Linked DNA regions of Homo sapiens: regions 1, 3 and 4 are each linked to region 2. The links are contacts of gene promoters, found by promoter capture Hi-C in blood cells and fetal thymus (Javierre and others, 2016). All regions are on one chromosome and are shown on one strand. Each heading gives the region's core, a stretch centred on a gene start or on the middle of the fragment in contact. The rest is flanking DNA. Distances are from core to core; before and after follow the strand shown.

Region 1 (7,542 bases), core at 2,271-4,770, 500 kb after region 2:
TAATAACACTACCAAGTTTTACAGCACTCCTGACAAAAATCTATTTTTCCTCCTTTTCTTTCCCTTTAAGACAGGGTCTCACTCTGTCGCCCAGGCTGGAGTATAGTGGCACGATCACAGCTCACTGCAGCCTCAACCTCCTGGGCTCAGGTGTATTTTTCCTCCTTTATCTCTTTAGAACCTCACAACTACCCTAGTAAGCCTTGGGAAAGCAAGTATTTGGCTCATTTGACAGATAAGGAAACAGGTTCAGAGAATCCAGAGAGCTTGTGACCTGCCCAAGATCTCAGATCAGATTAGTGGTAGAACTAGATTCCAGCCCATGGGTGGCCATAGCCCACATTTTTCTCCCCATTGTGCTTAAATAGGTTAGAGGTCACAGGAAGAAAGAACCCCTTTTCTGGAAAAAATTATGTTGAAACTGTACCCAATTTATTCCTATTCATTGATTCATCTACTTGATTTCATTAGGCAGCTCTGTGATTCAAGAGATGGCCATTTGGGATGGGCAAAAGAGAACAATATATGACAATATACACTCCTTGGAATGAAGAAAGGTAAGTCTCCATCCACAAAATACCAAACAGACTTCAATCAGAACACTCTCAGTTCAAGAGGATTGGTGCTGATTGTTTATTTGTTAGAAATGTATATTTTCTGGCTGGGCCCAGTGGCTCACGCCAGTAATCTCAGCATGTTGGGAGGCTGAGGTGGGCAGATCACTTGAGGTCAGGAGTTTGAGACCAGCCTGGCCAACATAGTGAAAACCCATCTCTACTAAAAATACAAAAATTAGCTGGGCCTAGTGGTGCACACCTGTAATCCCAGCTACTCGGGAGGCTGAGGCAGGAGAATCGCTTGAACCCGGGAGGCGGAGTTTGCAGTGAGCTGAGATGGCACCACTGCACTCCCACCTGGATGACAGAGTGAGACTCCATCTCAAAAAAAAAAAAAAAAAAAAAATGAAAGGTGTATTTTCTTAATAAGTAGCACATGCTCACATACACACCATGGAATACTATGCAGCCATGAAAAAGGATGAGTTCATGTCCTTTGTAGGGACGTGGATGAAGCTGGAAACCATCATTCTGAGCAAACTATCGCAAGGACAGAAAACCAAACACCACATGTTCTCACTCATAGGTGGGAATTGAACAATGAGAACACTTGGACACAGGGGAACATCACACACTGGGGCCTGTCGTGGGGTCGGGGGAGGGAGGAGAGATGGCATTAGGAGATATACCTAATGTAAATGACGAGTTAACGGGTGCAGCACACCAGCATGGCACATGTATACATATGTAACAAACCTGCATGTTGTGCACATCTACCCTAGAACTTAAAGTATAATTTAAAAAAACTTCAAAAAAAAAATAAGTAGCACATGCTCATTGAAATATTTCAATAAAGAAGTTAATTTTCAAAAAAAACAAGGCAAAATCTCCCCTCTCTATTCATCTGCAATCCCACTCTGCAGAGTAAAACTGCTAAGTTTTCTCTGCACATAATTGAGATACACACATTTTGTGTTTTCATTTACCATAAATGAGATTATACTAAACATATTTTTCTTCAACTTGCTTTCTACAAATCTACAGTAATCACAAACATCTTTTCATGACAGAACATAGAGATTGTCTTTATTCTTTTAAATAGCTGCATAGTGTTGTATAATAAGTCATATCACGACAGTCCCCTACTCATGGATGTTTAGATGGCACTCAGTTTTTTTCTGTAATCAAAATTGTTTCTCTATACATCTTTGTCTAGTTACATGAGAATTTCTTTAGAATAAGAGTGGCCAACATTTCTTGAGCCCTTTACCTTCACATCATGTGAATAAGACAAATCGCTGAGCCATGGGTAGGGCATTTCACTGTAGACAAGCAGAGACGTGAGGCTCACAAAGGGTAAAGCTAGGATTTTTTGATATGTAATCAGAGTAGAAACTCAGTTCCCTAGCTCCAAAACCCAGATTCCTTTTAGCCTCCAAATACATGTATTTTTTTTTCTTTTTCTTTTTTTTTTTTTTTTTTTTTTTTTTGAGACAGGGTCTCACTCTTATTACACAGGCTGGAGTACAGTGGCAGGATCTCAGCTCACTGCAACCTCTGCCTCCCAAGCTCAAGCGATCCTCCCACCTCAGCTTCCCAAGTAGCTGGGATTACAGGTTCATGCCACCACACCTGGCTGATTTTTGTATTTTTTGTAAAGACAGGGTTTTGCCATGTTGCCCACACTGGTCTTGAACTCCTGAGCTCAAGCAGTCTGCCCACCTCTATTTCCTGAAGTGCTAGGATTACGGGCATGAGCCACTGCACCAGTCTAGCCTCCAAATATATTGATATTCTGATAAGATGCCACAGGGCTATATATCTTTTATTTGAACCCCTTGCGTCGCTCTGTTCCACTTAGCTAAAAAACTACCTATCCCCAGGGGGAAAAGCTGAGTGAGTGAAAAAGCAAAAAATGGTTAAGCTGCAGTACTCCAAGGAGACTAATCAAAGCATGTAAATATTATTTAAAATATCCTTTTAGGCTGAGTGCGGTGGCTCACACCTGTAATCCCAGCACTTTGGGAGGCCGAGGTGGGCGGATCACCTGAGGTCAAGAGTTTGAGACTAGCCTGGCCAACATGGTGAAACCTCGTCTCTACTAAAAATACAAAAATTAGCTGCGTGTGGTGGCGGACACCTGTAATCCCAGCTATTTGGGAGGCAGGAGAATTGCTTGAACCTGGGAGGCAGAGGTTGCAGTGAGCCAAGATTGCACCACTGCACTCCAGCCTGGACGACAGAGCGAGACTCATCTCAAAAAATAAATAAATCAAATAAGATATCCTTTTAATATATTTTAATCAGCTTTATTGAGGTATAATTTATTCACTAAAATGCACATTTTAAATAAAGCTTGCTGAGTTTTGAAAAAGTATACAGCCATGTAACCACAATCACAGCCAAGATGAATGTCTTTGTATATCCTATACACAATCTTTCATCAGATATAAGTACTGCAGATATCTTCCCCCAGTCTGTGACTTGCCTTTTCATTTTGAGCAGAAAGTTTTCATGTGACAAAATCCAATTTATCAAAGTTTTCTTTTATGGTTCACATTGAGTCTAAGAAGAAATCTTTGCCTACCCCAACATCATGAAGATTTTCTCCTATGTTCTCATCTAGAAATTTTATATATTTACTTTTTACATGTAAGTCTCTTATCCCTCTTGAGTTAATTTTTGTATATAGTATGAAACAACGGTATGAATTTACCTTTTGCTATGGATATCCAATTGATCCAGAATTATTTGTTGAAAAGATTATCCTTTCTCTATTGAACGATGTTGGTACCTTTGTCAAAAATTGACTATAAATGTAAAACCTTCAAATGTAAATATAAACTCTATTTCTGTCGATTCTATTCTGTTAAGCTATATGCCTATCTTTATGCCAATACAACAGTGTCTTGATTTCTGTAGCTATATAGCAAGTTTTGAAATCAGATGGTATAAATCCTCAAATTTATTCTTTTTTTTCAAAATTGTTTTGGCTATTGTAACTACAGTTGATAGAATTGACCAATGAAGCTGCAGCAGGCAGAATTCTAAAATGCCCTGGGACTGTAAATATGATGGGTTTTACTCTTATGATTAGCTTATGTTATATGAAACAGTTGACTTAAAGAAAGGGAGATTAGCCACATGAACCTTTTAAAAGCAGAAAGATTTTTGGTTGATGGAAAAAGAGAAAGCTAGAAATCTGAAGCACTAGAAATATTTAATGAGCTATTGTGGCTTGAAGATGGAGCAGGCCACATGACAAGGAATGCAGGCAGCCTCTAAGAGCTAAAAGCAGCCCCTGAGGGACTACCAGCAAGAAAATGGGGATCTCACTCCTACAAGGTCAAGGAAATGAATTATGCCAACAACCTAAGTGAGCTTGGAAGTGATTCTTCTCCAGAGCCTCCAGATGAGAACTCAGTCTGACAGACATCTTGATTTCTAGTCTCACCATGTCAGACTTCTGGAATACAAAACTGAGGGCTAATAAAAGGGTGTTATTTTCAGCCTCTACATTTACAGCAATTTGTTATACAGCAATAGGAAATGAATACAGAGCTGTCTGGACCCAAGCTTTTCTTTATGGGAAGCATTTTATCTATTAAATGAATTTCTGTACTTGTTATAGGTAGATTCAGATTTTCTAATTATTCTTAGTTCAGTTTTGGTAATTTGTATCTTTCTAAGAATCTTTGCATTTAAGTTTTCCAATTTGTTAATGTAAATTTGTTCATAGCAGTCCTGTGAACTCTTTAATTTCCATAGGACTGGTAGTGATGAACCGTTTCATTTCTGATTTTGAAAATATTCTATTTCTCTCTTCCTTCTTGGTTAGTCTAGCTCAAGATTTCTCAATTTTGTTGACTTTTTTCCAAGAACATGATTTTTATTGGTTTTTATTTTCTCAAGTTCATTGATTTCTACTTTTTATTATTTCTTTCCTTTTGCTTGTTTTGAGTTTATTTTACTCCTTTTTCTAGATTCTTGAGGTGGAAGCTTAGATTAAGATTTTTCTCTTTTTTTAATGTGTTTAATGTTATAAATTTCCCTCCCTGCACTAACTGCATGCCACAAATTTTGATTTTGTGTGTGTTTTTGTTTTAACTCAACTCAAAATATTTTCTAATTTCCCTCATGATTTCTTTTTTGACTATGGGTTATTTAAAAGCATGTTATTTAATTTCCAAATATCTGGAGATTTCCAAATTTCCTTCTGTTGCTCATTTCTAATTTAATCCTGTTGTGGTCAGAGAACATACTTTGTATGATTTCAATTCTGTTAAATGTGGGCCTTGTATCATGGCCTAGCATCCAGTCTATTCTGGAGAATGTTCCATGTACACTAAAAAGAATGTGTATTCTGCTGTTATTAGGTGTGGTGTTCTAAAAATGTCAGTTGTATCAGGTTGGTTGATAGTCTTCTATATCGTTACTAATTTTCTATCAAATGGGGTATTGAAGTCTCTTTGAATAGTGTTTTTCTTTTTAATTCTATCAACTTTTGCTTTATGTATTTAGGGGCTCTGTTGTTAGGAACATATACATTTATAATTGTTACATATTCATTATAAAGCATCCATCTGTCTCTAGTAATATGTCTTGTCTTAAAGTCTATTAATATAGCCACTCCAACTCTCCTATGGTACTGTTTTTATGGCATTTTTCCCCATCCTTTTACTTTCAACCTATTTTTATCTTTAAATCTAATGTGTCTATTGTAGGTAGCATATAGTTAGATCTTGCTTTTATTAGTCAGTCAATCTCTGACTTTTGCATAGCATTTAGATTGTTCATATTTAATGTAGTTATTGATATGGTTCAATTTGTCTTCCATTTTACTATTTTATTTATGTCCCATGTGTTTCTTCTTCCTTTGTTTCTCCTTTACTGTCTTTTGTGTTAAATGGATATTTTTGTGTGTGCTGCTTTTATTCCTTTGTTAGTTTTTAAAAATTATTACATTGTTTTGAGTTTTGTAAATTTTTTAGTGTTTGCTCTAGGGATTATAATATGCATCTTAATTTAACAAAATCTACTTCAAATTAATATGAATGTAATTCTAGTAAAATTATAAAAATTTGCTCCAATATAGCTGCATTCCCCCCTTTTTGTTATTTTATTATTGTCATATATATTATTTCAAGGTTGTAAACTCAAACTCAATACAAGATTATAATTATCATTTTATGCAATCTTACATTTTATAAAAATGTTAAAAGATTTATATATATACTTATATATTTACGTATATATAATATTCCTTTCTATTTACCCATTTATTTGCTTTTTCATGTGCTTTTCATTTCTATGTATGAATCTGAGTTACTATGTGGTATCATTCATTTTCAGCCTGAAGCATCTTCTTTATCATTTCTTTAAAGCAAGTATACTGGCAATGCATTTGCCTGAGAATTTATTTCTCCTTTATTTTTGAAGAATAATTTTGCTGAATATAGAATTCTTGCTTAACAGAATTTCTTCTTTTTTTCTTTGAAATGGAGTCTCGCTCTGTCGGCCCAGGCTGGAGTGCAGTGGCACACTTATTAGCTCACTGCAACCTCCACTTCCTGAGTTCAAGTAATTCTCCCACCTTAGCCTCCCCAGTAACGGACTACAAGTGCATGCCACTACACCTGGCTAATGTTTTTGTATTTTTGGTAGACACAGGATTTCACCATGTTGGCCAGTCTGGTCTTGAATTCCTGAGCTCAAGCCTTCACCTCCCAAAGTGCTGGGATTACAGGCATGAGCCACCACACCCAGCCCTATGTATACTTTTACATGTTTTTTTTTTTTACATGTTTTTAGGTTGGCTAAAACTTTTAATACAAATGCTAATAGATGCAAAGAATATAGTATTTAGATTATTATAAAAACTGGTTTTTTTTGTTTTTTTTTTTTTGAGACCGAGTCTTGCTCTGTTGCCCAGACTAGAGTACAGTGGCACGATCTCACTCACTGCAACCTCTGCCTCCTGGGTTCAAGCAATTCTCCTGCCTCAGCCTCCCAAGTAGCTGGGGACTACAGGCACATGCCACCATGCCCGGCTAATTTTTTGTATTTTAGTAGAGATGGGGTTTCACCGTGTTGCCCAGGCTGGTCTCAAACTCCTGAGCTCAGGCAATCCACCCGCCTTGGTCTTCCAAAGTGCTAGGATTATAGGCATGAGCCTCCATGCCTGGCCTATGGCTGGTAATTTTTAAAGTTAATTCATGTATCCATGGATGAATATTACTTGCTGCTGGGCACAGTGGCTTGCACCTGTAATCCCAACACTTTGGGAGGCTAAGGCAGGTGGATGGCTTGAGGCCAAGAGTTTGAGACCAGCTGGGCAACATGGAAAAACACCTTCTCTACTAAAAATACAAAAATTAGCCATGCGTGATGGCACATGCCTGTAATCCCAGCTATTCTGGAGGCTGAGGCACAAGAATCACTTAAACACCGGAGGCAGAGGGTGAGCTGAGATCATGCCACTGCACTCCAACCTGGGAGAAAGAGCTAGACTCCATCTCAAAAAAAAAAAAAAAAAAAAAAATTACTTGATGGTTGAACAAGACATATTTAACATCAATTTTATTTCTTTTTTTAAATCTGAGTTAGTTTTGTTTCAAGCATCAATTCTATTTCTATTTTTCACTTTTATAGATGTTGGCTCTGAAAAACCTTGTTGACTTAAGTAGATAAGGATGGGAGTGTTGTTACATCAACATCAGTCTTTGAATTTAGTTCTATGCCAAAATTTACATGGTGATTGCTCTTCAGATATTATTTTTCATGATCAACAAGCTAAAAACTCAATTAGGTCTTTCTTCAATTTTGCTGAAATCAAAAATTGAGAAATTTCTGCTTTGCAAAAGGACTTGTTACCTAGTCAATAAAACCTAAGGTGATATTCCAAATTGTCCATTTGTTTGAACCCCAGAGCTTTTTAGGCTCCAGGGAAAGGCCACACAGTAAGAACTGTATGAGGAGAGGAAGG
Region 2 (6,837 bases), core at 3,198-5,697:
AAGAGCAATTTTCCCCTAATACTTAACAGTCTGCCTAGCAGCTAGAACCCAGAGTCTCTCAAGTATTTTGCCATTGAGTATGCCTTCTTATTCAATCCGCCTCCATGGACCCCTTCTTTTCCCATTACAAAGACCAAGACTGAAAGAGAAAGAAGAAAAGTGTTTCAAAAGAAGTGTTAATCAAGAAAGTCACATAAGTTTTAGCAGACAGAACCCGGATTAATAAGTTAACATTAAGTTAGTTTTCCATGAACTGCCAAGCACTGAAGTCAAGTAGGTTTCCAAAAAGAACTTTCAAACTAGTAATATACTAAACAGAAAATAGTAAACTTGACTGCATCTTGGAAGCCAATCAATGCAAGCAAAAGTTCTATACAACTATCTTTACACTAGCTACAGAAAAAAAAAAAAGTGACCATTTGTCTTCTATTTTAGGGCAAAAAAATTCTGGCTGATGTCAAGTACATGTTATTACTTGCCCCCAAAATATAAACTTAATAAACCTGGGGAGTTACTTACTTACAAACTCTCCCCAAATTTTAACATGCTTGATAAGTTTAAACTATTAAGTTTTACCAGTGAGGCTAAATGTATCTATTATTTCCAGAGGAAAATGAAGATCAAATTTTAAGTAGCATACTCAGTATCATTCAGAAAAGGCCAAATTAAATTATTTAAGGTGTTTGCTTACTGATAACTTCACCGTAGTAGCCTTGTTTTTAATTGCGTCTAAAAAAATAGGTTTACGATTTCTAATTGCTCTTCTATGATGCAATTCAAAGGTGTATAACCCAAAATATATGTATATGTCAAATTTTATATTCACTACCACTAGATGTCAGTAGTGCTGTATCGTATAAAATATTCTGGTTTTTTGTCTTGTGTTTGACGCTTCTTTTCAGCGTATAGTGCAGCTAAGGTTTAAAGAGATTTGTCACTATTTCAAAGTCATCTAATTTTCTTATAAATCCTTATAAACATCAACTCACACCAGAATACGAGTAACTTTTAGGATAATCACAGGGAGCTGGTAGAGCCATAGCATTAATTATAACTCACAGCAGCTTCAACTCCCCTCACATGGTAGAGCTGTTATTAAAATTAGATGTGCCAAGTCAGCTATGTGAGGCTACAGAAGCACTCTCTATTTACAAAATATTCGTATGCGTTAACACATTAAAATGTATTTGTAAATCAATTAGATGTCATAATAAAACTCAATTTCAAAAGTTTATTTTGAAAAAGTAGGGAGACTTCTTTAGTGCAATTAAGAGTTTCTATAATGCTGACAACAGTCTGGAGACACCTGAATTTCTGGACCAAGTATACAAACTAAATGTAATTTCCTACTTTTCAAATCTAAGTCTCAGACACAATCTTTGAAAATATTTCAGTGAATGGACAACTTACTCCAAAATCCTCATCTAATTATCTTTTCCCCAGCAAAGTTCCTAACTGAAAAATGAACGGATGTTAATTTTTCCTTCTTTATGCTGAGTAGTGAAATGGTTAGAATACAAGCAAGAAAAAAAAGAAAAGAGATCCAAAGGTCAAACACACACCAAAAGGGACTAAAATAACCAAGTGATTCGAACAATTTAACAATCTGAAACACCACAGGATTATGATTTGACATGTCAAGCAGTTTAAGAGACTTTTAAGTTTAATAAAGCTGAAAGTGAGTTCATACGAATATTCTATCGTAGAAACAAAATCAGGATCTAAGAGGCCAGGTCATAGATGCTGTAGAGTAGGTAAAACTAAAGCAGTGCTTCTCCATAGTGCTGGGCAGTTCACAAAAACCACCTTAATAGCCATTATGGACTAACTTTTATTCAAAATGTTAAAAGAAACTGCTTAATAAGTTGTAATGTGGCATGCAACTTTAACCAAAAGAATGCCTTACTCACCTCTACCAGCTCTGCCGACAGCCACATTGTATGTTGGCTCCCCACCTTGACTCTTTGTCCGGATGTCCATTGTGCAGTCACCATCGACGTATAGACTATCTCTGATCACTGAGCATTTCTTCGCGCCAAGAGTCAAACCGTTGGTAAAGAAACCTTCCCGGTCTTTTCCTACAATCATATCTATTTCTATTGGCTGCCCCCCACCAAAAAGAAAAAAAAAAAACACACACACATTAAGTTGTAGTTAACTCCTTTTAGGGCTTGATGTAACAGGAAGGGCTGTAGCTAGGCTTATGCTACCACTGCCAGATAGCCACATTTCACTAATGTAAAACCAAGATTCAGTCTTTTCTAAATAATTATTTAATCCTATATAATCACATATTTTACATGAGTTGATTTGACTTCAGTTAATGATGTCGTCTCTTAACCAAGACCAGTCTATACAAAGAAACTGTAAAGAGTTGACAGTTGACACTAGACAAAGTGCAAACTTAAAGAGTTATTTATAAACTGTATTAAGTCAGCTGGTGCCTGAAAGTGTTCACGTAATGGTAAAAATTCAGCTATCAACTCTGAACAAAGCTGGTCTATCATATTCAGTCCCATTACAGTAAATCATGTTTCATCAAATTTAAAGTTGCTTCAAAGTCTCCCAAAATAAAGCCTGTTCTTTGATGTGTTCACTTCTCTGCTTAGAGTAACTAGAAATATACGTGATGAGATGGACTTCAACCCCTGGACATCAGTGCTTTTCCAAATTCATATTTCCCTCCTATTTTTCTAGCCACGACTCCCGTTTCTTTCCAACTTCCCTTCCCCTCCCATCTCAGTAATCAGTTTTCTTTCTGGGCAAACGCAAAGTGGATTCTGTCTACAGCACTGCGGTAGGCAATAGTAAAACAGAAAAAATGGAGGGAGATTGGGAAAGAAACTGAGGTAGCCACCAGAACCGGAAAGGAGAAAACGTGCATTCTAACATTCCATGAATAAGAAGGAAGGCGTCGCCCCCATCAGAACTGCAGAGTCATAGCAGGCCCCAGCCATTTCCAAGCACACTCCCGCAATCTTCCTAGTCAGACAGCGGGAACTCACACACAAAGACAAGAGGACTGCAGGAAAAAAGTTGATGACCAGATGCCAATTCCCTACAAGAATTGTAGTCCACTGCGGGTATACGAGACCTTAAAGTACTACTATCAAGGACTGAGTTCTAAAGTTAGACTTTAAACCATGTTAAGTGGTAAAAGAATAATTAGCACCCTTAATAGGGGACCTGAATTTTGGTGCTTAATGGAAAGGGAGCGTGGTGCTAAGAAATAAAGAGAATGGTCTCGTATTTAGTACAATTATCATAATTTTAGAAACAGCCTTGGGCAGAAACAGGCAAAACAATAAGCTGGAGGTTTTGTGGCAAATATTCTCCAAACATATTGCAACCAACTCAAAACCATCAAGTCTCAAGAAAATCAGGCAATGTGAAGCATAAAACTGCATTAGTTCCTTTACTGCCACCACTAAAGAGGGAGGGACTTAGAGAAGTGAAGTGTGCTCCTGGTCTTCGCAGATAATTGAAAGCCCCCGAAAAGCACCCCTTTTTTGAGCTATGTTGCATAACTGGGGATAACCGTATATCGATGAATCTCCATATGAGAAGAGAAATCAATGGCAGTTCGCCATCTTGGAGAATTTAAAAAAAAAAAAAAAACAACCTATAGAGCTAGAGCTGAAGTCGAGATTCACGAATCCACCTACGCGGTCGGCGTACATCTCTCGCAAGCCCCAGAGGCCTGGACATCGGTAAACCTACGCAAAGTCGCTTCGAGAATCCCGGGGGCCGGGCCGGGGCCGCCGCCTCCCACAGCCGGAGGCGCGGGAGGCGCGCTGTCCGCGGAGCAAGAGCCGGCCAGAGAGCCTAGGGACCTCCACCCGGGGCCCGCGCGCCCCAGCCCGGATCCCCGACCCCCGCTTCCACCCCAGAACGTGCATAGCAAACCTCAGGGCTTCAAGAGAACCTAGGGGAACCGCACTAGGAGGAAAAAAGGAACCCCTCCCCTTGCCCTGGCCGGTGCGTGCCCCCTCCCCCAACCCGGGCACCTGGACCGACGCTGGGAACGCCGGGGGCGCCCGGCCAGGGCCAGCAAGGAGTCCGGCCGCCGCCCCCAGCCTGTCAGCGCAGCCCCGGGTGAGGGGGCGTCCCCGGGCCTCGGCCTCCCCGCCCGCCCGGCAGCCGCATCCTCGGCGCCCGCTGCCTAGCACACCTGCGGGCTCGGCCCTCAGTGTTCCAGCCCCGCGCTGCGGTGCCCCCGCGGCCGGCCACCCCGCTCCGGTGCAGGGACCAGGGTACCGGCCGCCACTGGTCCTCACCGTAATGCTCTGAAAGACGCCCCCGGCCGTGGCTGCCCAGACGTATTTGGCGTCGCAGTAGCCGACAATGGCGGCCTCCTGGCAGCAGCCATCGCACATCAGGTTATCCACGTAGCTCTGCCAACCGGCCATCTTCGAGCCCTTCGCACTGCAGCGCGGACGGCGAGGAGCAGCAGGCGCAGCGGCGGCGGCGGCGGTAGCGGGCGGCGGCGGCGCGGGGGGAGGCGGGGCGGGGGCGGGGAGGAGGCGGCTCTGCGCAGGCACCGACCGCCCCCCTCCCCGAGGAGCTGCGGCGGGAGGACGCGGGTTCAGCGATGAGGGACGAACCTCAGAGCGCGCTCGGCCGCCCGGCCGCCCGCAGCCGCGGGGCTGACAAACCAGCGGCGGGAGGCTGCGAAGCGGCTGTGCCTGTGGCGGCTGCTCCTTACCGCAGCGCCCTCCGTTTTCCGCGGACACGGCTGGGCGTGCGCGCGCGCGTGCGTGCGATCCTTCCGCGGCGCCCGGGCACGGAGGGTCCCGGGAAGGGCGGGGGGAGACTGAGGCGGGGGCGCGGAGGGATACCGCCCCGGGACAATCACGGCCGCCACGTGCGGGAGGCGCCGGCCGGGAGCGGTGGCGGGCCGAGCTTCGGACCTCGGGCCGGCGGAGAGGGTGGACCCCGCGTCGCTCTCGGCACCCCAGGAACAGCGGCGGCACGGACGCCTTGGAGCCCCGCGGCCGGGCCGCGATGTGCTTTTCTCCTGTGTTCGCTGCCCGGGATGCGGAATCTTGAGCCTCGGTGTCGGGTTACAGAGTTGTCCTGGTGACGGGATGCGGAGCGTTTCCTCCTTTTTGTTGTGGGGGCGGCTGGTGGCAGGGGCAGCTGGTGGCAGGGTTGCCCACGCTAATCTCCGAGTCTCTAAGGGCACCGTCTTTCCTGGATCCCTCTTGCGCCTCGTCCATAAAGGCAGACCCGCGGGCGCGCGCCGGCAACCTGAAATCAGAGCAGGCGTCCGTGGCGCTCAGGAACCTTGCTGAGCTTCGCCGATCTTTCATTGTTGCTTCATTTGGGTACCAAGGGCCTCTCATTCTGTGGATTCTTTGCCTGGAGGAGCCCCCTTAATGTTGCTAATCACGTGTGGTTAAATTGCTCGTAAATTCCGAACAAAACAAATAGCGACCTGTGTTACACTGTTTCTTGGTAACTGGGAAAGTTACTGGTGGCTTGAAGTATACGCAGAAAATACAAAGATTAAAAACTAGGGAAGAGTTCACTGAATGAACACCGTAACATTTCTGCTCTGCAGGGTAAAATAATTTCGGGACCCAGGTCTGGGAAAGATTTGTATTAACAAGGTAAACGGTGGGTAGAGTGCCTGAGAAGCTATTCGTATCGTCTTTGGTAGCCTCTGGGCACTAGGACTAGACATGGAATTAGGGGTCCCCCAACAATGACTTCAATTTTAGGTTAATAGAAACCATCTGCCACTTAAGGGAAAGAAAGCACCAAAATGTAGATAAGTTGATGTTCACCCTTAAAGTTATCGTGTGAGGTCATGATTTGTAGGAGGATTAAGGAATGTATCTCTGGAAAGGGCAAGAACGTTGCTTTTAAAAGTCTAATTGGTTCTGAAGTTTTATATTTTTTCTGCTGATTGCTTTAAAATGTTCAGCTACTAGAGAGAAAAAAAGTACAGTAAAAGAAACCCCCAAGTCAGAGACCTATCAGACTGAGAATATGTATTTTCTCATGTTCTAAAGATACAGAATACCTGTGTGGTGTAAAATGTGAACCAAAAATTGTTTCATTTTTGTAAGTGTGCCTCCCACCTGATTTAATTACACTTAATTGTTCTTGTTTATGACTCTGCCTTTTATGGTGATGTTGATCATTTTAGTCCTTCGATCATAGCACTGTATCATCTTAAAAGTTAATAATAGATTACTTGTAACACAGGCTCACTATGTGAGAATTCATCAAGCTGTATGTACATTTATTGTGCTCTTCATTGTATGTATAATTCAATAAATTGAAACAGTAAACGAAAAGGTAATTATAGAAAAAATACAGTGATAACTTGAAGTATGTTGAATTTTTATTAATTTACTCTGAAGGTTTTAAGATATAATTTCTAGACGTTACTATCTTATTGTTATAGCACAGAGTTGGAAATAACTACATTCTTTTCCTATTCTTTTATTGTTGGCTTTAAACAGTGAAAGAATTTGACCAACAATATTTTCTAATTCAAATCTCAAAAGATTCTAAAACACATTTCTTGGGTAAAATATTCACAAAAATTTAGAATTCTTGTCATTCTTCTATATTTTTCAAAATATAATTCATTTTAAATTACTGCTTACTTTTCCAACATGATGTTATTTTTCTAGAATTGCAAACAGTAAAATTTAAACAACTATGAAAAAAATTCTGTATAATAGATTAAATTTTACAGTTTCAATTTTTAGGTTATATATTCAAAGAGAGTCCATGTGCTGTCTTGGTTTTCAGTACTGTAATAAAGTAACCTGTGCTTTTTTGTTTGTTTGTTTATTGAGATGAGACTCCGTCACCAGGGCT
Region 3 (6,707 bases), core at 3,633-6,132, 280 kb after region 2:
ATTAGCAGTTGCCACATGTTTTATGTGTTATTTCTAAATTAACTCATCAAATATACTCATAACAACCCTGTGAAACAGAAACTTTTCCCTTCAGCTTTTGAAGTGGGAAATGGGTAGTGTACTTGGACTTTTTGACTACTAAGAGCTCATGCCATGATAGGAGATCATGCTCTAACAGGAAGCAGGGTTTACTGGGATATAGAATGGATTGTGAGTAGCCATGAAATAACAAATGTCTACTACACAGAGGGTCAGAGGACTTTACTACAATCTAGTCCTTCTTCTTTTTTTTTTTTTTGGAGACAGAGTCTTGCTTTGTTGCCCAGGCTGGAGTACAGTGCCATGATCTCAGCTCACTGCAACCTCTGCCTCCTGGGTTCAAGTGATTCTCCTGCCTCAGCCTCCTGAGTAGCTGGGACTACAGGCGTGCACTACCACACCCACCTAATTTCTGTATTTTTGAATAGAGACGGGGTTTCGCCATGTTGGTCAGGCTGGTCTTGAACTCCTGACCTCAAGTGATCTACCCACCTCAGCTTCTGAAAGTGCTGAGATTACAGGGGTGAGCCACCATGCCCAGCCTATTCCTTCTTATATGTAATAATCATTTGTTGATTTCCAAAGTTTAATGCCCTAAGCTAGGTAATATATAGGAGAGACAAAATTAAACAAGACAGTGAACTCCCAGGTACTATGTCACTTAAGAAAAAAAGGGAAAAAAGGGACACCCCCTAAGGAAAGTTCACCTACAAAGAAACAATACATGAAGTGCTTAGTAACTGAAGAAGATGAGTCTAGGACATGTCCAGGGCCATCACGATCACATCACACATCACATTGTCAAGGTAGCTTCAGTCCCTGCAAAGATGGACTCAGAAAACTAAACTCACAGTAAGTCTGCCCTCAGATTTAACCTGGCCACAGCCATCATCACTTATTTGCCAAACTGGAACAGCTGAGGAGCACGACTACACACAGACATTAGATTCACAGATATGCAGGGCTGCCAAATGGGACTCATGAAGAGGCAGAAATCTGGAAATCCCATTAGCGACAGATGCAGCGCAGCATGCGTGTCTGGGGAGGCACTGGCGCCAGCCCTTGGGGAAAGGCAGATCCATCTTGGATCATGACAGCCACTCCAAACCAACCTGAGGCCAGCATGAGGGTGAGATGTGGCGCAAAGAAGGGGTGGATAAAGCCAGGCAGTTAGCAGCCATCTACTTGCCCCAGAGTAGGGCAAAGACTCCTTGGTTTCCAAGAGAAATGAGTTCAAGTCCTTGGAGGGCCTCTAATTTGATGTTTGAATGGGAACCAGAGTGCTCAAGTTTGAATCCTACCTCTACCACTTCACCTTGGGCAGGTTCCTTCACCTTTCTTTTTCTTCTCCGCAAAATAGATGTGACCCATTCTAGGACTGTTGTAATAATTAAATGGGAAAATACATATATACTGGCAATAGTAATTATTGTTAATTGTGTCCTATATAAAATGAAGTTCAATGAAAGACTCTCTTTGTTTCTTTCTAATGCTAACATTCTGTGATTATCTTAAAAGTACCTGAGATGAGATATCCCTGGTTCATTCCTTTTGCTCTTAACAGCATCTAAACATTTATAATTTTGGATTTCTATACAGAACTAGCTGTTTGATTGAAAGTGTGACCTGTGTGTCTATTTTCACTTCCGTTTTTATGCCTGTTAAAATCTCTGATGATATTCGTGCACTAGCTCAGGTAAAAGACAACTACTTTCATCTAACCACTTCAACATTTGTAATCAGTGTTAACTAGGGAGGGAAACTTGAAGATTTCACTTGCCTATTTTCACTCAGTCCTACCTTTCACAGAGAGCTCATTCAGGAAGGGATGAATTGAGGCTGAAAGGGGCACACATAAATGTGAATATAGTCACATGACAGGAGAATTCTAGATTTAGAAGTTCAACGTGGGGATTACACTTGCTGAAAATAATCTTAATGTATATTTTAGTGGTAAATTGTTAACATTCTTTCCATATTTCCTGACCTCAGCTATTCCCTTTCCTCCGCTGTGGTTAAGGGTAAAATTCAGGAATGGATAACTTTCAGAGAACCAAGGAGACAGGATTTTGCCTGTGGTCAGGAAAAAAAAAAAAAGAGAGAGAGAAAGAAAGAAAGAAATTTCAGTTGCTTCAAAGCTGGTTTGTGAGAGGTCAGGGGTGGGGAAGGCAGAGGGAGGAGGCCTCTCCAGGGGCCCAGCCGAGGCTCCAGCTCCCTTTTTGTTTTAATCTGGTTTGTGGTCCTGCTGGCCCAGGGAAAACACGGACTTGTACTAATGTAGCCCAGGAAAAATATTGGAAGGAAAAAAGCTTAGACACTTTGTATAAACTACAGAAAATAAAAGCAATAAACTGCACAAGCAGATGAGACTTTCCTGATGGAAGTACTGTGATTTCTCAAAGCCAATAAAAAAGTCCTCAAATACATCCTCAAAGAAACTTGATTGTTTATTGTGGTGTCACATTTATGACCCACGTAAGTAGCAGTCAACTAATATCTTTATAAAACTCTGATTTATAGGTACTTTGATTGGGCTTTTCTGCTTACTGGGACCCCAAATGTGACAGGACCACCTCCCTATTTGCGTGAGGAATTCTTGTTGTTATTGAGGACTGTGGATGCCCAGTAACCAAGATGGTTGCTGTTGATGACAGTTTTACATATTCCATTTTTCCGAGGGGCAAAAGTCACATGCATATGACTGAATTCTTGGTAGAAGCTCTTTCAATTTTCTTTATGGTGATAATCAGAGACAAAGAATTTCCTTTGGAAAAGATCTCTAATAAAATTATGAATAAATCACTTGGACTGATCCCAAATGGAGAAATCAATTTGATTTGTAGAAGCTAAGCCCTTTAGATTCTTCTGCAACATTTTGGTAAACTCATTTTTTAAAAACAGCAGCACACCACAAGTTGGTCCTGTAAATCATGTAGATCACTAGATTTGGGAGACTAGAGGACTAGGAAAAAATGATGACAGTAATCCAGCAAATGTTTAATTTCTACCCCACCCCCAAAAGGAACAACTACCCTTTCAGAGCCAAGTCCTGACTTCAGGGCTGCCCACAGTCTTGCTCTCTGAAAGCCCTGTAGAAAATTAGAGGGGTGGAAGGCAATCATTTAAAATAGATCACATTCAGTTTTATTAAAAAACCAAAACAGCTGGGGTATTGATTTGCAAGCTCTGTAATGCCATTGGTATGCCCAACCTGGCCAAGATATTAAAAAGATATTTAAGGAAATGTCACTAAGTGTCTCAGGCACAAGTTTTGGCATATTCAACCAGCATTGTGGTGCTGTGGGTAATTCGTCTTCCTTTATGTTTTGCTATGCAGCACAGGGGGAGGGGACATTTACAAAATGATTTACTGTGACACATCCATTATAATGAAAGCATGTGCCGCTTGCCAGCACTCCTGGCCCATCTTCTCCCTCCCAGATGCTCGGCCATATGTCCCATGCTTGGCGTGAGCGACAGTTGTGTTGATAGAGAAGGAGTCCTGGGATCTCGGTGTTTTTAACAGAAATCCCAGAAAGCTCTGAGGTTGCTGGCTCAGGTAAGAAAAGCAGCAGGAAAGGGCCCATTGTTTGGGACTAAGTGTTTTTAAAGATGCTTCAGTGGTATAACCACAGGATGGAGTGAGATTTACTGTCTCCTCAAGGCCAGGAGGATTGCTGAGAGAGGAGCTCAAGCTTCACTTGGGGAGCTTTCCACTGTTGCTGGCTTCCCAGCTCAAGTTCTCTTTCCTTCCTCACCCCTCCGCAAGATAACTGGCTGCTCTCTGCTCTATCTTCCAGCAACAGCCCATTCCTCAGTTACCAGGACCTTGCATCCAAATTCGAGCGGCACGCATTACTGCTTCGTGAAAGCAGCTGCTACTTTGACCATGTGGATCTCCTGGCTCCCTAACTATTGCAACCCTAGCTTAATTGCCTCTGCTCCTGGAATAAAATCAGCACTTATTGAACACCTGCATATGGAAGACATCATGCTAGGCCCTGTGAAAGAAAGAAAGAAATTTGGTATACAGTTGGTTTTGCCTTGAAAAGTTTACCATCTAGTTGTGAATTAGTACTCCCATCTATGTCCTGGCAAACCTTGGACAAATTTCTTAACCTCTTTGCACCTTGATTTCTCCATCTGTAAAAGAGAGGATAATAGTATATAGGATTGATGTAAATCAATTAATATGTATAAAATGCTTAAACTAGTACATGACACATAATAATCACTCAGTAAATGTTAGCTAAATTTGGCCCCTAGTTGGAGGAAAGAAAGAGGGAAAAAAGAGGAATAAAATTAGATTTATGTGCTGTATCTTGTAATAAAATTTTATATATGTTCACTGAATTCTCACAATACCATGTAAGGTAGATATTACTGTTACTCTTTAATTTTTAGTAAATTGAGGCTCTGCTAGGTTAATACTTTGTCCAGGTGTTCAATGTTGACAAAGCTTACAGTCAAGGCCAAAACTACTTAGTGCCACAGCCCATGATTTTGAAAAGACAAATAATTTAAAATTTAAATAATGTTTACAAGACACTAGAGGTTGTCTAGCAAAGGTCAATCTCTGATTGATTTCCCAATAAATTGCATGAGAAGACATTGCCTAAGAGTTCACTTCGATATGGAGCTGGCAACCGCAGGGAGCTCTTCCCACCACTAGACCTGAATGAAGCATCGAGGAGCCATTCTTGGAAGCCAGGGAGGGGAGTGGAATGGAAAGGGCTGCCTGGCAGGAGCTGTATCTCTGGGTAGAGGGACACAGCCAACCTGCAGGAACCAGCAGAGAAGGGGCCAGGAACATACTCTGATCTTACCTCCTCCTTCCTCTCTCCTGCCAGTACTCTTGGGTAAGCAAGCCCTTTGCTGCTGTCTAAATAGGTCATCCTCCCTGGGCAGAGAACAGGATGGAAAAGAGTAGAGAGAGGACCTGGGGGTGCAAATGTAAGATATCCAACACAGGAAGTTTGTTATAAGATTAGATAACTTACATGGCACTGTGTCTGCTACACAGAAGATACTGACCACCTGATGGTTACTATTATTTCTTATTATTTGTCCTGCTTTGGTTGGCTTGGTATTTATGTGTCCAGTTCAGATCCTCTGGCCTCACCGCAAACAAAAGAGTTTTCTAATCCCTGTAGTAGCATGAGAAGTGACTCACTAAAAAGTCAATTAAGTTTCTTGTCTACAATCTTTTGCCTCTATTTTTTTTAAAGGAAGCTTTCAAATGGGGTTGGGGGTGGGGAACTTGGAAATCATTTTTTTAAACACAAGCTTTGTGATTTGTCTTATTGGAAGTTCTTAACAGAGGAAAGGGGCCTGTTTGTTTAGATTGCTATGCAACAGGAGGCATTGAGTAAATGGTTTCCCAGTTTTTATTATTTTAAACTTCACCCGGAGAAAATTGATCCAAGTTTAAGAAAGACAGGAGGAATGGAATATAGACTCTAATGTTTCCAAAATTCTAAATGGCACTGCAAATAATAGAACCCTAAAACAAACATTCACAAACAGAAAATTACCTTTGTATTTCTCACTTTCAAGGTAAAATCCGTAGAAAATATGTCTTCATCTATTCAAACAGAATTTTTTCCAGCTAATTTATACACTACATGCTAAATAATGACAGAAAGTTGAAAGTTTATCACTTTCTACCAAATATCAGCAAAAGGTTAAGTTGCTGTAGAATAATTACTTTTTATCTCCATTTTTCACCCACAACATGCAGAAAGCACAACTAGGCAGAAGCCATCATTGACCAAGAGGAAAGAGGGGCAGATGCCTCCTAAAATTCTTTCCCTATCTCAAACTCAGTCACCAGTTTTTACAAAAGCTTCACATTCCCCCATCGAGCTATTTTTCATTAGGCCAAGAGGTTTTGGGTTGATATTCATGTTGGTGCTGGCTCTATCAGGCTGGCAGGCTTAAGGCAGTTTCTGAATTTCCTGTTCAAGTTAGAGGGGAAAATGCACATGCGTCCAGTGCCCTGAACTTGGTGAAATCAGACATCTGGAAGCCAATGGTGGGGAAAGAGAGCAAAGGTTACAAGAAAAATAACACTCAGTAGCAACCAGCAAAACAAACTTTTGTCTGGAGCAACAAGAAGGCACAGCAAACACATCAGCCCATGTGGCACCAGCTCATCTTCTTAAAAACAGTGTCTTACTGCTTCTCCTAATGTCAGGAGTTCCAAAAACATAAAGAAGTAAATAAAAATAATTAAAATGCCTCTACCCAATAATTAAATGCCACTACCCTAACACTGTGATATATTTCCTTCTAGTTTTTTACACACACATATTCTATAGGTATATGTACATAAGTAAGATTGCAAAGAAATACGAAGGATATTTTAAAACTAAAAAACAGAATTATTTTATACTTGCAGTTTTATGTGTTGTATTTTAAGTCTACATTATTTTTACACATTTCCTTATATCATTACATATTGTCAGAATGGCTATTTTTTAAATTAGCTACGTAATAGTTCATCCTACAGATGTAGCATAATTTGACCAAGCTCTTGTTGTTGGCATTCACGCTGTTTCCAATTTTTTTACTGTTATGAATAATATTTTGAAGAATATCTTTGTAATTCTGCCTGCAGAATAAATTCCTAGAAGTGAAATTACTGGGTGAAAAGCACTCACTTAAAA
Region 4 (7,255 bases), core at 1,124-3,623, 450 kb after region 2:
AGTGCTTCCATCCTTTTAAGTAGTACATTTATTTGTGATGTTAGTGAAAGTTCTGCAGGTAACTGAGTTAATTTTATTAGTGTTTGCCTGGGACATATACCTATTATTAGGGTAGGCAGGACAAATAAGTAAAGTCTAAATGTTAAATTACTTAAAGCTTCTTTTCCCATAAGCCTTTCCTAAAATTTGTCTAAAGAATATTGCTTTGTAGAAGATGGAGTTTGTGATTAATGTGTCAATTATTGTAAATAATGATGGCATAGTTTTAAATGTTAGTTTTAGGCTGTTCATCTTATTACACAAGTATATAATTTAATCTGAATAAAGGATTCCCAAAGGTAAGTGTAAAGCCTCTAGTTTCTAAAGTAGAGTTAGTATTTAGTTTTTATCAAGTGGTTTTATATGTTAAAGCAAAACAAATCTTTGCTTGGCATACCGTCTACCTAGTCTTTGAAGACAAAACAAAGGAGGGAGGAGCTGTTTTGATCAAATAAAACCAATAGCGTGTTTAATTATGTGTTAACATATGTGAATGACCATTACAGAGACAGTAGAGTCAGACATACCCGGGCTAAAATCTAACTGCTACATTTGACTTTGAGCTAGTTGGTGTAGATGCCTTGTTTCCTCTTATGAAAAATGGGGATTGTACCTACCTGGGAGAGTTTTAAGGAATTAAATGATGTGTGCAAGTAATTTGAACAGTCTGTAACATAATATATGTGGCAAACGTGTATCACAGAAATGTTAATATTTCAGTGTCCAAACTGCTCTCCCAGATCACCCCTTTACATGTTATAAATCATACCAAGAATCTTCCATTTTAATATGAAAGCGTAATTGTATGGTATGGATGTAGTCAGAAAAAAGGAGATGATGTTTTAGTCTAGACGAGTCATGATGTTGTAAGAAGTATAGGGAATTGTGTTCCAGTCCTGGCTCTTCTATCATTTAGCTGGTTTCTTTGGTCAAGTCATTTCACTTGTCTGTTTTTCTTTTTTGAGACTTTGTCAAATTTTAAGATTCCTTCTAGCCTTATGTATATGAGACCATACATTCAAGTGTGCTTCATGAGAGAACTGCAAACTTAAACTTTCTTCTTTTTACCCCTTTCCTGCCACTTGACTATTGTGTGGCAATAAATGAAGTTTGTAAATACTCATTAAGTAGGTTGATTGCCCAAGAAAACATTTAAAACAGCTTATCAGTCATTCAGCTTTCATGATGCTCTGTGAGTAGTGAGCACTGGAATACAAATATGAGACTATGCTGCCCTCCTAGATCTCAGGCATTTTCATCATCATGAAAATGATGATCAGATGTATACTTTGACATACATTGGAGGTGGTGATGGAGTAATATAAGGTGCTAATGGGAACAATTTGAGACATCAGATCAGATTGGGATTGGGAGGGTAGTAGACTGACTTCTATTTAAAAATTATTCTCTGCATAGGTATTTATATAGTTCAAAACTCAAAATATATAAAAGAGTAAAATCGAAAGCCTCTCTGCTACCTCTGTCCTCCAGCCACCCTGTTTGTCCTTAGAAGTAACCCATTATTACTTGTACATTCTTTTGAGGCTAACTCTTGAACTAAATCTTAAAATGGTCATTCAGATTAAGTCACTAAGAAGAGAAGGGGATAGTTTTCCAAGCAGAGGTAAAAGGCAGTTTGTATAATGATGTGAAAGAGTGAGAATCTATCATTTGGAAAATGGTATTGTTAATTTGACAAGAACCAGAGTGAAGGACTTTAAATGTCATGGTAAGAAATTTCGATTTTTATAGTAAGTTGCTGTTAAAGGTATTTCTGGAAGCTTTTATTGTTAAAATAATATATATCTTGAAACGATTTCAGTATCCTTTTAGTGATTATTGCATTTTAAATTATAATCTTATGATAAAGCTGTGTTAAGGGAATACCTTCAGAGCGCTGAGTCCCAAAAATCAGAATTCTTACCTAATGAAATGTGCTAAATATTTTGGTACCCCTGGCTCTAAGTTTAAGTATTCTGTTTCCCTCAATATTACCTTGATAATGTCAGAACATTTGGTACATGTTGAGATACTCTACCAAAATTTGATTTATAGGTAGCATAATTTGGAAACTAACCTTATATTAAACACAAAGCAAGCTTACTTGTGTCAGGTCCTATGTATATAGACTTTCATTTGATCTTTCCAACAATTTGTAAGAAAGTGGTTTCTTCCCTTCCCCCTTTCTTATGGATTAAGGAAACTGAGACTCTTAAAATTTGAGTCACCTAGGTATTGGGTGACAAAGCCTAGACTCATATTCAGACCTTTAACCTAAAGCCAGTGCTTTTGAATATTCCCAGAGTTAGAAGTTTGTTTTATTACTTGGCACACAATAAGTTAGGAAGAAGGAAGAACTACCATAGCCACTGATTTGTTGTATTGTAACCCTTTACCTAAAGGATTTTTTTAATCATTTAAATTCCCCAGATAATAATACTGGAGATGGTGCTTGTTGATGTTCTTCATATTGTATGTCCCTGGTTTCTATTTAGAGATCTCTGAAGTCGAATTTTGGCATAGATTAAGAGAAAGAGGTGTTTGTTGAGTGCTCAAGTACCTTATGCTTTAAGCTTTGACAATTTTTGTAGCTTAGTTTTGAGGTATGGAATGTTTGTTTTTTTCTCCCTGTTGTACTTAGTTACCCTACAAAGATAGTGTCTTGCAAAAACAGGTAGACATGCCACATGCTTTGAGTCATTTTCTGATGTAGTATTTTCACATACTTGGAAATTAATGTGATGGACTATTGAGTATATAAAGTCAGAGAGAAAAGAATGTATTTTGTTCAGTGATGTTAAAGAATATTTACAAATAGGAAAACAGCATTTTTGTTTAGGTGGCTGAAGTACAGTGTAAACCACATCTCAGTCTTCCTAGAATTGCTTCGTTGGCTCTATATTTAGAATGGTAGTTTATATTAATATCAAATAAACTGTTAAAAAGCTGGTTTCAAATTTTATTTCTTGAGTGGAAGAGAATTTGTGACCACAGCTGCATAAAAAGTCAGTATTTCCTTCTAATAAAATTTTTAATTTCAGTTGCCTCTTCATGCTTTCAGGTTTCATGGACTGTAACCTTGAAATGATCCCATTAACAGCCTTTTCCTTGGGCTCTTAATCTCCTCAATTTTATGCCATTCCAAAATAGAAGTCTCTCTGATGATCAAGCCTTTCAATCTTTACAGATGGCTCTTTTCCCTTCTACTTCCTTGATCAGTGATTTCACAGACTTGACTCCTTTAATCTGTTAGTCAGTGTTTGGAGACTAATTATTGTTGCTGTTTGCTACAAACCCCTCAGTTTATGGATAACATCCCAGTTATAGTATCCCAGAAACAAAATTTCATAGCTTATAAGACTATCTAAATTTTTACCCTTAAAATCTAGACTGTTTAAAGTTTTATGTAGTACATAGATTGTGTAACTGTGTACTATAGAAAACCATGTACTGTGGCTTCTTCACTTTGAATGTATGTAGAAAGAGTGATTGTTAATTGTTAGCTTTTGCAAATTAAGTGTATTCTAATATGTGCTGAAAACTTTAGGTCCATTTATACAGTATTTTATTTCACAGGTTCTTTCCACATCCCAGTATTTACTACTAACTACAAATATGTTCGTTTTTCACCTTTACATTTGACTTAAGAGATATTGCACTATTCTGTAAAACTGCTGGAATTTTATAACAAGTCATATGACTTCATTTGGAACCAATTTACCTGGAATATGAATTTGATTCAAATTAAATATTTGTATTTCCAAAGTCAGAGGATCTAAAGGTCTTTTAAAGATGCCAGGTGTGGTGGCTCATGCCTGTAATCCCAGCACTTTGGGAGGCCGAGGCGGGCAGATCACCTGAGGTCAGGAGTTTGAGGCCAGCCTGGCCAACGTGGTGAAACCCCATCTCTACTAAAAATACCAAAAATTAGCTGCGCGTGGTGGTGGGAGCCTGTAATCCCCGCTACTCGGGAGGCTGAGGCGGGAGGATCATTTGAACCCAGGAGGCAGAGGTTGCAGTGAGCCGCGATTGTGCCATTGCACTCCAGCCTGAGCGACAAGAGTGAAACTCTGTCTCCAAAAAATAAATAAATAATAAAGTTCTTTTAAAGAATATCATCCTTATAAATATATTGTGAGTACTCTTTAATGAATTTTGAATTGTAGACTTGCAGAATAACTTCCAAGATACTCTTTCTTATTCTTTTGTATATACTACCTTCCTCTTTGAGTCACTCCATTTAAACTGGAGGTCTCCAAACAGACCTTTGAGGATAGCAAACTAGTTCCCATATGTTCCTGGGCAAGCCTGTTTTTTTATAAAACAAAAACAACAACCAAAAAAAAAACCAGATTGAATGTTCAATTGGTTCAGTTAGTTTTCATTTGATTTGGCAGACTGACTTCTAAGTACAGCGAAAAAAGTGGCCTGACAAATACATCTTAAGAGGATGTAAGCCGTTAAATAAACAGTAGGTAGAAGCCTCTTAAGCTTTTCTTGTTATTAGCAGGTCTAATCAGTGCCTTTGATTGCCTTAGACCTAGTTAGGAGAAAAGTGGAAAAAGGATTAAAAGAATAGAAAGGAGTTGAAGTAGGGCAAGCAATGAGAAATACACGTATTAGTCTCCTAATTAATCAAACAGTTACTTTGGTGATTCTCTGGCATCTTGGAAGTCTTTTTTTTTTATTGTACTAATAATTCTGCACAGACTTTAAGGCTCTTAATAGGACCCCAGAATTGCCATGTTGTATCTAAACCTCATTTTGTAGATTAAAATAATGCTATTGATGATTCACTGTATGCCAGGAACTTTACATTTAGTCTCAGTTCTTTAGCCTGCAAAGCTAGGTAGTAATGTAACCAGTTAACAGATAAAGAGACAGACTTTTAAAGAGGTCAAACTTTAACACTGCTATGTGTTTAGTGTAGTGGTTTAAGAGCATAAACTCTGGAACTAGATTGCCACCTACTAGCTCAGTGATGTAAGGCAAGTTACTTCTATCTGACCCAGTTTTCTCCTCTATGAGATGGGAGTAATAATGGTGCCTACCTCTTAGGGCTGTTGTCAGAATTTAGTTAATGAGTGTAAAGCACTTAGAATAGTGTGTGGTACCTAATAAACACATTCTTAACTGCTGCTGTTCTGCTACAGCATGGGCTAAGAATTTTAAAAGTTATGTGGCAAAGTTTTTTTGGCTTCCAGATGTACAGGTTGAAGGTGGGGGAGACTATGGAAGTTGCTGAGGAGGAGGGAACAGGTTTGTCAAAAGTTTAAATCCCCGTGGAACCAGTCCCTAGATTTGAGGTGAATCATACTTACTGGGAGATAGTCCAGAAGAGCCCATCAGTTAAGAGTCTATGGTGAAAGCCCTAGGGAATGGTAGAAATGAAAGATAATTATGATAAATAGGCTTTTACCCCTAAAGTAACATTGTACCAATGCTAGAATCAGAAAGCTGCCAAACAATTGCAGCGCCATTTTTTGCCCTAGACGAGGAAAAAACACATATAAATAAATGGATTTTGAAGGTGGAAATGTGTCAAGTCCAACCCAGGAAAGAATTCTTCATTGTTAATCAAACCTTTGCTACTTTTAACAGAGCCTAAGAAAAGTTTTTATATTGTGAAGATATAGCTTAACTTAGTTTATATGAATACCTAAGAACAGCCTTGTTAAACTGCTAAACAAGATAGATATTTGTAAAGGCATTTGATATAGAAGAGTGTTGATTAGGCTATGAATTTGTCACATTTATATGCACGCACACAAAATTGGATGCTACTTAGTATTTAGTTTCATCTGCCTTACCTCTTTATTTTATAACTGTGATCCTGAATTATTGTTGAAGTCTGCTGGATTTTGTCCAGTTTTTAATTTCTTCTAAAGTGTTGTTTTAAGCAAACTTATGTGGTTTTAAAATCTTTTTATTATTAAAAGTTACACTGTATTAGAAATCTAAAATCTTCCATCTTCTTTTGAAAAGTAGTGATTATACTGTACGTTCTCAACCTCATTTCCATTTGATTCTCGGATCTCACAGGAATCCTTCAACTGCTTTCTACCAAGCGTTCCATTTGAACACGTTAAAGGAATCAAAGAGCCTCTGGGATAGGTATGAATACTTACATATGGAATGCATACATGCAAAACTGTATGCATGAATTGCTTTGCACTGTACTGGTTTCTCATTAAAACTGATCTTTGTTATTTTAGGGGGGAAATCACATGGTATCTAGCATGGGACAAAGCAGCAAAATAAACCAAAAGGACAATCTCTATTTTATATAGAAAATAAACATACTTTTCTGCATCCTGTGTACTTTAAGTATATCTATATTTTTGAAGGGTTCATACTGTGTTGAATTTTTCTTATGAAATAGTCACTTCCCCAGTGTATTTTAATGCAAATGCATATTCTATAAAATAAACTATATTTTAATTTTTGTGCTATTTTATGTTTTTTTTCTGTAAAAGCCATAGTGATTCAAAGCAAAATGTTATTTCAAATTATGAAATTGGAGGAGGAACAAGACCAAGGTATCAAAGTAATCATTGTTTAATTTTTGGCAAGAAACTTTAACTTCAAGTTTGTTTGCTAGAATTCACTAGGTCTGCATTACTGATTTGTAAGCCCCTAAAACAGTTTGCTTTCTTACAGAAATGTTGTATAGATTTTACTGTTAACTTTTAAAAATACAGAATGAAGTCTTGGAGTTCTTTTATGGCAAAAGATACTTTGGTTTATCTTTCTGCTTAACACACATTTTAAGTAGTGTATGCTCTGTTCAATCGTTTTGCTGAATATTTATTAGCATTCCATCACTTTGTGTTTAATTAATAGAAGTTGAGTTCAAACAATGTTTTTAAAATTCACACAAAGCTCGTTAGATTCTTTTAACTCTGCCTGGCAACGCATTTGTGTCTTCTGGCATAGTTTTGGATAACACTCATGAACTCAACTCCATCTCTTTCATTAGAAAAGAGTATTGCTAAGTGCATGTACATGTCATATTAAGACATGATACACATTGCCTAGAAATGCTAAAACAGTCTTAATTCTTCGGCTTGATTTGCTTGTGTGTGTCACTCTAGGGAAATTTTCTAACAGTATCTTTTTGATGGTGTGTTCCAGAAATCTTTTTAAATAGTTACTTTTAGAACAGGAAGTTTTAAAATTTGTAGTACCATGTTTATAAAATAAATTTTTAAATAGT

The links. Contacts are between HindIII fragments. The CHiCAGO score rates a contact against its expected background, and 5 or more counts as called.
Region 1: a contact is called between a fragment that was not itself captured here and the fragment with the promoter of PFN2 in region 2, in 1 of 17 cell types (megakaryocytes). The highest score is 5.2, in megakaryocytes.
Region 3: a contact is called between a fragment that was not itself captured here and the fragment with the promoter of PFN2 in region 2, in 2 of 17 cell types (erythroblasts and megakaryocytes). The highest score is 6.2, in erythroblasts.
Region 4: a contact is called between a fragment that was not itself captured here and the fragment with the promoter of PFN2 in region 2, in 2 of 17 cell types (endothelial precursors and megakaryocytes). The highest score is 5.6, in endothelial precursors.

What each region holds. Positions count from the first base shown.
Region 1 is chr3:150,472,330-150,479,871 of GRCh38, forward strand. No RefSeq gene overlaps it. Among named protein-coding and RNA genes, the nearest start is that of TSC22D2, 68 kb to the left of the region's middle. The HindIII fragment of the contact is 1,221 bases long and covers 2,911-4,131 here.
Region 2 is chr3:149,966,448-149,973,284 of GRCh38, forward strand. PFN2 (profilin 2) reads right to left here and starts at 4,448. Exons shown (of 3, transcript NM_053024.4): 1 at 4,278-4,448; 2 at 1,911-2,103; 3 at 1-139. The coding sequence starts at 4,409. The coding sequence ends at 42. LOC646903 (a long non-coding RNA gene) reads left to right here and starts at 4,832. Exons shown (of 1, transcript NR_036538.1): 1 at 4,832-6,795. RefSeq lists silencers at 3,644-3,903, 3,924-3,973, 3,984-4,223, 4,434-4,513, 4,744-4,803 and enhancers at 4,649-5,180, 5,181-5,711. The HindIII fragment of the contact is 10,546 bases long and covers 1-6,837 here.
Region 3 is chr3:150,246,604-150,253,310 of GRCh38, forward strand. No RefSeq gene overlaps it. Among named protein-coding and RNA genes, the nearest start is that of LINC01213, 11 kb to the left of the region's middle. The HindIII fragment of the contact is 773 bases long and covers 4,497-5,269 here.
Region 4 is chr3:150,416,968-150,424,222 of GRCh38, forward strand. All of the region lies in intron 1 of TSC22D2 (TSC22 domain family member 2), which reads left to right. Among named protein-coding and RNA genes, the nearest start is that of TSC22D2, 12 kb to the left of the region's middle. The HindIII fragment of the contact is 474 bases long and covers 2,137-2,610 here.